Linked DNA regions of Homo sapiens: region 2 is linked to region 1. The links are contacts of gene promoters, found by promoter capture Hi-C in human tissues and cell types (Jung and others, 2019). All regions are on one chromosome and are shown on one strand. Each heading gives the region's core, a stretch centred on a gene start or on the middle of the fragment in contact. The rest is flanking DNA. Distances are from core to core; before and after follow the strand shown. Region 1 holds the start of PREP (prolyl endopeptidase). Region 2 overlaps LIN28B (lin-28 RNA binding posttranscriptional regulator B).

The links. The method cuts DNA at HindIII sites, captures the fragments that hold promoters and counts their contacts. A contact is called where the count stands out against the background at its distance.
Region 2: a contact is called between a fragment that was not itself captured here and the fragment with the promoter of PREP in region 1, in 2 of the 25 tissues and cell types used here (H1 embryonic stem cells and heart left ventricle).

What each region holds. Positions count from the first base shown.
Region 1 is chr6:105,401,098-105,404,984 of GRCh38, forward strand. It overlaps PREP (prolyl endopeptidase), which reads right to left and starts at 1,985. Exons shown (of 15, transcript NM_002726.5): 1 at 1,750-1,985. The coding sequence starts at 1,794. RefSeq lists a silencer at 1,693-2,262. The HindIII fragment of the contact is 9,128 bases long and covers 1-3,887 here.
Region 2 is chr6:105,059,417-105,063,303 of GRCh38, forward strand. All of the region lies in intron 3 of LIN28B (lin-28 RNA binding posttranscriptional regulator B), which reads left to right. Among named protein-coding and RNA genes, the nearest start is that of POPDC1, 76 kb to the right of the region's middle. The HindIII fragment of the contact is 5,121 bases long and covers 1-3,887 here.

The sequences.
Region 1 (3,887 bases), core at 735-3,234:
TGTATTAAAATCCACAGTATACCCTTCCGAGTTGTTTATAATCTTTTAGACGTCTTCATAAAATCCTCACTTAAACCTTTCATGAAATATCAAACATAAATAAACAAACTGTAGGATTTAGGCACCCACAGTGGTGAAAAACTAACAAGTAACTCTAAAAACAAACTTAAAACTGCACTTATCAAACCACAGAATGGGTAATTCTTTATATTCTGATCCTCAAGAACCAGAACCAAGAGAGTCACCTGGCTTCCCATTACTAGTCTGGAACACTGCAGAGCTAGACTGTCACATGAATGAATGAATGAATGACAACATTCCTACTGCAGAAGCAAGTAAGCCCTATGGTCAGTCCAAATATTTCTCATATGAGAAAAAAGGCCCATAACAGGTAAAAGAGCTGCTAAAAGTCACCTAACTAGTGAATGACAGAACCAGAACTAGCGCTCTGGTCTTTTCATTTAGTCCAGCCTCTTTCTCCATTCCAGCAGGATCACTTTACTCCCATATTCAAAGGAAACAACCTTTAAACCACAGGAATAGAGCTTCTTGAGCTGTTAGGGTAAATTTAATAAGCAAGCAGCTGAGCAGACTGAGAAAACATGGTTACCAGATGGCCACTGGTCAAAGAAACCATGAATGAATGCATCAGTGTCACTTGGAAGTCTTAATTTAAAACAGTATGTCCTTTACTCCGAAGCGTCAGCACCCTTTACCCCAATGTAGCACGTGCTTTAAAGTAAACACTTTCTGGCATAAATTGGGAAAGTAAACAGAAAAACATTAAAACTGTATCACACAAATACATACTTATTCTGATTATATTTTAAGTAATCTGAGAAATGTAGCTATTAGTAAGAGAATCACGGCCACAACATGTGGATGCAATCCAGTTCCTAAGTCGTCAAATTCACGTTTACACAAAAAAGGTGTCTGCCCAGAATTCCGCCTACTGGATCTCAACAGTTACCTTGAGTTCATCTGCAGCTTAGGCAAATGGTGGTCAACTCCGCCACTAGACAAAACTTACTCATTCTGAAAAAGGTCAACCCCTCTCCCTTCTAAGACCTCCTCTCACCCTCTCTCAACTCCTTTTCTTGTTTAAGAAAACATGGATCAGCACGGCCACACTATGGGGTCACTGCTCCGCCTTCCCCATTTCTGTCCGGGTCTCTGGCATCCCCAGGGCCCAGTGCGCCTCATCCGACCTGGGACAGGGTAGGCGCTCAACACACCTTTTAAAATCGAACGAATATGCTTCAACTCTAAGGACTTTAAAGTGTAAGTTTTAAAAGTTTGTTTTCGTTTTTAAATGTGACATCACACACACACACACACACACACACACACAAACACACACACACACCCCAGCGGACACTTTCTCCTACCACCATATTTAAGCAAGAGGCTTCGCCAGTCAAAAAAGCAGTGACACCGTCTGTCTTCCCACTCCCTGAAGACACCCATTCTACCCGGGCGTCTGCCCTTGACCCCATTGATTCTAGGAAGCGGCCGGGCGGCGCTGCCCACAGGCTCCGCCGCCAGCACTAGCAGAGTGACCGCCCGCGGGACCCCAGCGCTGCAGAGGAGCCCCGCGCCCCCGGCCCAATTCTCCCAAACAAAGGCCGAGGGGGAGGGGAGGGACGCGGGGGTCGAAGGCCTACAGGAAGAGGAGCTGCGGGTGCCACGGGTCAGGCAGGCTGGGCACCTTTGCCCGGGAGCCCTCTGGGCGGAGGCAGAGATACTTACGGCGGTCTCGTCGCGGTACACGTCGGGGTACTGAAGGGACAGCATGGCCGGGGACAGGCAGGGGGCAGCGTGGAGGGGCGCGGGCTCCGGGAGCGGACCTGAGCTAGCCGGGCTGGCCGCGAGGCGCGGCTGGGGCGCAGGCAGCTGCGGGGCGGCCGGCGGCAGCGGGCGGCCGGCTCACGGCCAGAGCTAGCACAAACGGACTGGCGGCGCGGCGGCGAGGACGTGCAGAAAGCAGGAAGCCGCTGTCTGCGAGGCCGGGAGCCCCTCCCCGGCGGGCGGGCCCAGCGGCGGCGGCGGCGGCAAGAGGGAGCGGGCGGCACCGAGCGTGCGCTAAGGCCGGCGCACAGCTCCCTCTGCAGGATCGCCGGCCGCGCCCGCGCCGCCCGGGCGCACGGAGGAGCACGCCGGCTACGCGCTCGCCCACGCCCGGCCGCCCGCCCGTCCTCTGCGCCGGGGACAAGTCCTTCCACCGAGGCCGGGTCCCCGCGCCTTCCCTAGCGCCCTGCCTCTCTTTGGCCGCGCTCGCAGGACCGCCTGTAGGAGAGTGAAGCCCCAGGGTTTCCTTGCTGATGGAGTCCCCCACCTTCCCCAGCCTTCCTGTTCCCGGGCTGGTTACGGCGGCGAAGGGAGACCTTGCCTCTCCCCAGCCTTGGAAGCAGAGGGCTGGAGGTGGCCTTATGTCCACTGCCTGCGACTCTGGACTTGAAGGGAAGAAGTAATCGATCATGATGACCGTGAAAGAAACACGTCTCCCTTCATCCCAGGACCCCTGGTGGACACTGGGTGGTTTAGCATCCGGACTATGGAGATGCTTTGGAGGTGTTGGCAGGACTACGGTTGAGCCCTTATTTGATATTTACCGATTGAGAAAGAACCAAGATTAAGAGGCCTGGAACTCATCAGGGGTATTTTATTTATCCTGCCTTTTCCTCATTTCCTCTCCTGCTGTCATGCTTGTTTATTGAGCACCTACTGTTTATGGGAAGAAAAGATAATAGACAAGATACTTGACCTCAAACCCATGAAAATTTAATAGTTACATGTCATCATCCTCGGGCCAGCAGCGGTATGTGTTCTGGTCTTGCTTCCTGGACCACCCAGAAGAGACTTTATAGCCCCAGCCATCAGGGGTATAGTGTGTGCCCAGTGTGTTTTCTATCCCTGGCTTCCAAAAAGTCCTGGAAGAAAGAATAGGTGTGACCAGAAAGTCCTTCACCTCCGGAATCTAAGTGGATATGGTAACTATTATAAACTTGTGTCCTCCGTCTCTTTTGTGATATGGTCCCAATTCCATGCCTCACCCTTAGTTCACCATTTCTGTTCATAGTGATGTGTCATAATCATTTTCTGCATCTGATCCCAGATACCCCCTCCTGGGGCAATCTGAGAATCCTCAATTCTGGGAGAACTCACGCTATTGATAACAAACTTTGTGCAAACACGGGGGCATAGCCCACTACAGCCCAGAAGTCCCAATTCCAGTTCCCACCTCGTGCCTTCCCTGGCTGTCACCTGACGCAGGGACTGGCAGGCATTGTCTCCTCCTTCTGCCACTGTGAGGGATTTTTTAAAGAGCAACCCAGGAGCACTTGACCCAGCAGACCCCCTAATGATAATATTAATGCTTATGGAGTGTTTTTTTCAGTGTATCAGGAAACTATCTAGAACTAATGTCCCTATTTTATAGTTAAGGAAAACGGGCTGACTTTTGCCCAGGACTTCACAAAAAGTGAAAAAGTAGAGCCAGGATTCCAACCTAGGTCTCTCCAATACCAATGCTCATTCTTAACCACTCTGACGGCCTTCCTACTCATAAATAAGTAGAGATACTCTAGAGTCTACAGGGCACCCATTTGCAGGGAAAACTTCAATTTAGCAGGACCTAAAGAAAATGTGGGAATTGTGGTACCCAAAGGACAAATCAAACCTAGGTATCATCCTCTCTTCCCTTTCAGTCAGCCGTTCTGGTGCCCAGTTCCTCTGGGCCCTGAGAGGTAAAGGTTTGTAGTGGCACAGACAGTGCAAGAGGCTCCCAGCAGTAGGTTGTCTGCATCTGGAGTGAGATGGAGTGGGAGGGAAGATGGGAGAGCACCCTTTCCCCTCCTATTGACCACGTTAGTTGCACTTTTGTTTGC
Region 2 (3,887 bases), core at 813-3,312, 340 kb before region 1:
TTCTTTCAGTGATGTCTCCCAAGTCTGTGACTTCAACCTTAGCATCTCTTCAAGTTTCAGACTCGCTGTGTCTCCAGAGATGCACATCCACATGTGGTTAACTTGTAGTTTTTCCATTACTATTTTATTGAAAAATCATTATAGTGGTAAGTGAAGCTTAGTAAGATTTGACAAAAAATTGATTAGATAAAGGGAAATTGAACTGTGCAGTAGTTTTGCCCAAAAGATGAAGCTTCTGCCATAGAGTTACATTATAGCTCAGTGGGTGCCCGTTACTCTGAAATATTACTAAAATGTATGACAATACTATTTGGCCCAAAAAGTATGGCAAATAGGAATTCATGTTTTTATTGCATTTGACACTAGTCATTTTGCATTTCTTCCACTTTAATGATGCTGCCCTTTAGTACTAAATATTCTTTTTTCATCCTTACATTCCAGCATCTTACAATATTTTCCCTTTTCATTTTCTTTATTCTCATGTTACTGTATTTTTTTTTTTTTAAGATGGAGTTTGGCTCTTGTTGCCCAGGCTGGAGTGCAATGGTGCAATCTCAACTCACCACAACCTCCGCCTCCCAGGTTCAAGCGATTCTCCTGCCTCAGCCTCCCGAGTAGCTGAGATTACAGACATGCACCACCATGGCTGGCTAATTTTGTATTTTTAGTAGAGACAGGGCTTCTCCATGTTGGTCAGGCTGGTCTTGAACTCCCAACCTCAGGTGATCCGCCTGCCTTGGCCTCCCAAAGTGCTGGGATTACAGGCGTGAGCCACCGTGCCCAGCCTTTTACTCTGTTTTTTAATAATACAAGGTGAAGGTGACTGATTTGCTAATTCATTTTTTTGTTTGTTTGTTTCTTTGTTGAGATAGGGTCTCGCCTTTTTGCCCAGGCTGGAGTGCAGTGGTGTGATCATGGCTCACTGCAGCCTCAACCTACTGGGCTCAAGCGATCTGCCCACCTCTGCCTCCCAAAGTTGTTGAGATTATAGGAGTGAGCCACTGTGCTTGACCTATAATTAATTTTTTGTTTGTTCGTTTCATTTATATTATCCACAGTAATATAAATAGGGTCACAGTGGTTGGTGACTGAGTGGTATGAGCAGACTGATAGATGCACCTGGAGTATCAGTTACAGTGACCGATCTGTGACATGGCATGAAGGCTAGAGATCAGGAATCTACTCCCAAATAGACAGGAAGCTGAGATGACTTCATGGGTTTAGGAGAGTTGACTTCCAGTAAGCATGATGTTTTAAAGCCCAAAATATAGTGACTTTTTCAATAGTGCTTTTTCCATTTCTTTGAGCCAACCAGGTATTATACCAGTAAACACTGTGAATGCAATGATAAATGTAGAACTTATTGGAAGAGATTTGGAAACTAGGGTTGGGTCAAAATGACCTTGAAGAGATGAGTTGAGTTTGAGATTACAAGAAAACATAAAAGTGGGAATAATTTGTGAGTGATCAGAGTAAAGAAAGTAGTTTGTATATAGGAAGTTGATTAATTTTTCAAAAGGGAGTTGGTAGACAAATATAAGTATAGATCTTGGTGACTCTAGAAAGGTACTGAGAACAAGATAGGAAAATTATATCAGTAAGGTAGAAAGAAAACCACTTTAATATTCTGAAAACCAGATGAAAGAACAGTCCCTAGAATATAGGAATAGTCAGCAAATTCCCAGTACTTAAAACTGTACTACACAAAGATAGTCTACTTTATCATTTCCTTTATCTGCAAATTTTCTGATAGAATTTATATGAACTAAGTTACCCTGCAATTTGATTTTTAGGGACTCCAAGGGGTGAAGCAGAAAAATATTAAATATTTAGACAGTGAACTACATACAGGAAGAAATGCATGGCATCTGCAACAAAGCAAATTAATTTACTAATATCTAATCAAAATGGAACAGTAGGAGATGGTCAAGAAAATTCCAGTATAAAAGGAATGGAAAATAGAAATTAATTATAGAGCATTCATAAGATATATATATTGTATCATTATTGGGCTATTTAGTTTGATCTCTTTAGCATTCTTGTAAAGAGAAAAATATTTTAAGCTTCTTCTGCTATTTATTTTTGCTCTCGCTCCCCCCACCCCCACCCCCCAGTTCATGAGGGCTTCAATTCATCTACCATGAATTGTCTTAACACTAGTGGAGAAATTTCACCTACCATTTATATATGGAGGTTTATAATTAACAAAACATTTTAAAATATGTATCTCATTTAAGACCAACAGCAACCAAATGAAGTAAGTGGAAATTATGTTCATCTTCAAAAATGAATTCTTGAAGTATGAAGCTTACTTATAGATGAGGAAACCCAGAGAGATTAGGTGGTTTTATCATGGACCACCATCTGAGTTACAGGCTGAAATCCTGGATTCCCTTTTTTATTAGATTTGAGGTCATGAACAATGTGTACATAAACTTTGAAACTTAGGGGTTTTTTTTTCTACTGTAAGATGAAAGTTTTAAAAATATTACATTGTAAAATATATTTAATATTCTGCTCAGTAGTCTTCGTTTCCATTTTCTTTTCCAAGCCAGCCAACTTGCCTTCCTAAACATGTCCTCTACTTTTCTACTTCGGTGTTATACTCAGGCCATTTATTTGCCTGGCATATTTTCTTTCCCATCTCTGCATCTATTTAAACCTTACTCATTTTTATTTTTATTCTAATGTATTTATTTATTTTAGACGGAATATTTTCTTAAATGGTACTGCTCCTTGCGGAGCAGGGCTGACTCTGAGGCAGGGCTCTCAGAGTCAGCCTAAACCTTACTCATTTTAAAATAACTTTTAAGTACTATGTTGCAGCCAGGCCAACTCCTTTACAAAGTCATCCCTCTCGCTCTCAGTAATTGTGATTGTGTCATTGTTCTGTTTTGTTTTGTTTTTGATTATGTCATTTTTGGAAAAGACATAACACTTTCTATCTTACAGCATTTAACAAAATCTACATTTTATTAGCCATTGCTATACCAGGAAGAACAGTCGTCAGCAACAGTTACCATTTGACCCCAATGGACTGTTTTAAAATATATTTTTAAGTGATATTACAAATAATTTAGAAATATATAAATCAAATCCTGCTTTAAAAACTGCATTGGAAATTAGCAAGAATTTAACAAACTCAAATGTTTCTTGCATGTGTTTCTGGTATGAAGATACTAATTTTCATAATGGGTGATTTCCGTTGAATGCAAGTAATTCTGCATGAATGATCCTGGAACATACCTATTTTGGAAATACTGATTCAGTTTTCAAATACGTTTCTAAGAGGTTCCAGCTTATTGTTCTTGGTGGTTCTTGCATTTACATCCTCAAAATGAAATACTTTTGAAAGTTTTCAGGGCTCGTAATTTTGTTAGAAGGTGGTCATTTTCTTTAGCCTATGACAAAACATTTTCATTTTTAGACATTGATTAGAATGATCAATTTGATTGATTTTTTTCATTTCTATGTTATTTCCTTTCAGTCAGTGCCTTAAGCATTTGTCCACTTATGAGCCATATTTCTTATGTATGGTTTCTTATGTAAATTTCTTAGTACAAACCTCATAAAAGGTAAAATACTGTCACGTGTTCTTTTAGTAAAAATTTTTGTCCAAAAATGTTGCATGATGACATCCTGTAGAATGACTAACTGGGTAACAAATTTCCTTTTTGTCCTTAGAAATAATATTGTTTACTCATTGATTCAGTGAATATTTATTTATTTGTCTTATATAAAGGCTCATACTCTGAGATTTAGTTTATACAATTACATCATTATAATTAGAGTCTAGAGTACTGCTAGGTATCTTTTTGTATTTATGCTCTTATTCATCTTCTCTCTGCCATTATGGACAGAAATGAAAATTTCTGAATTCTCAGCTG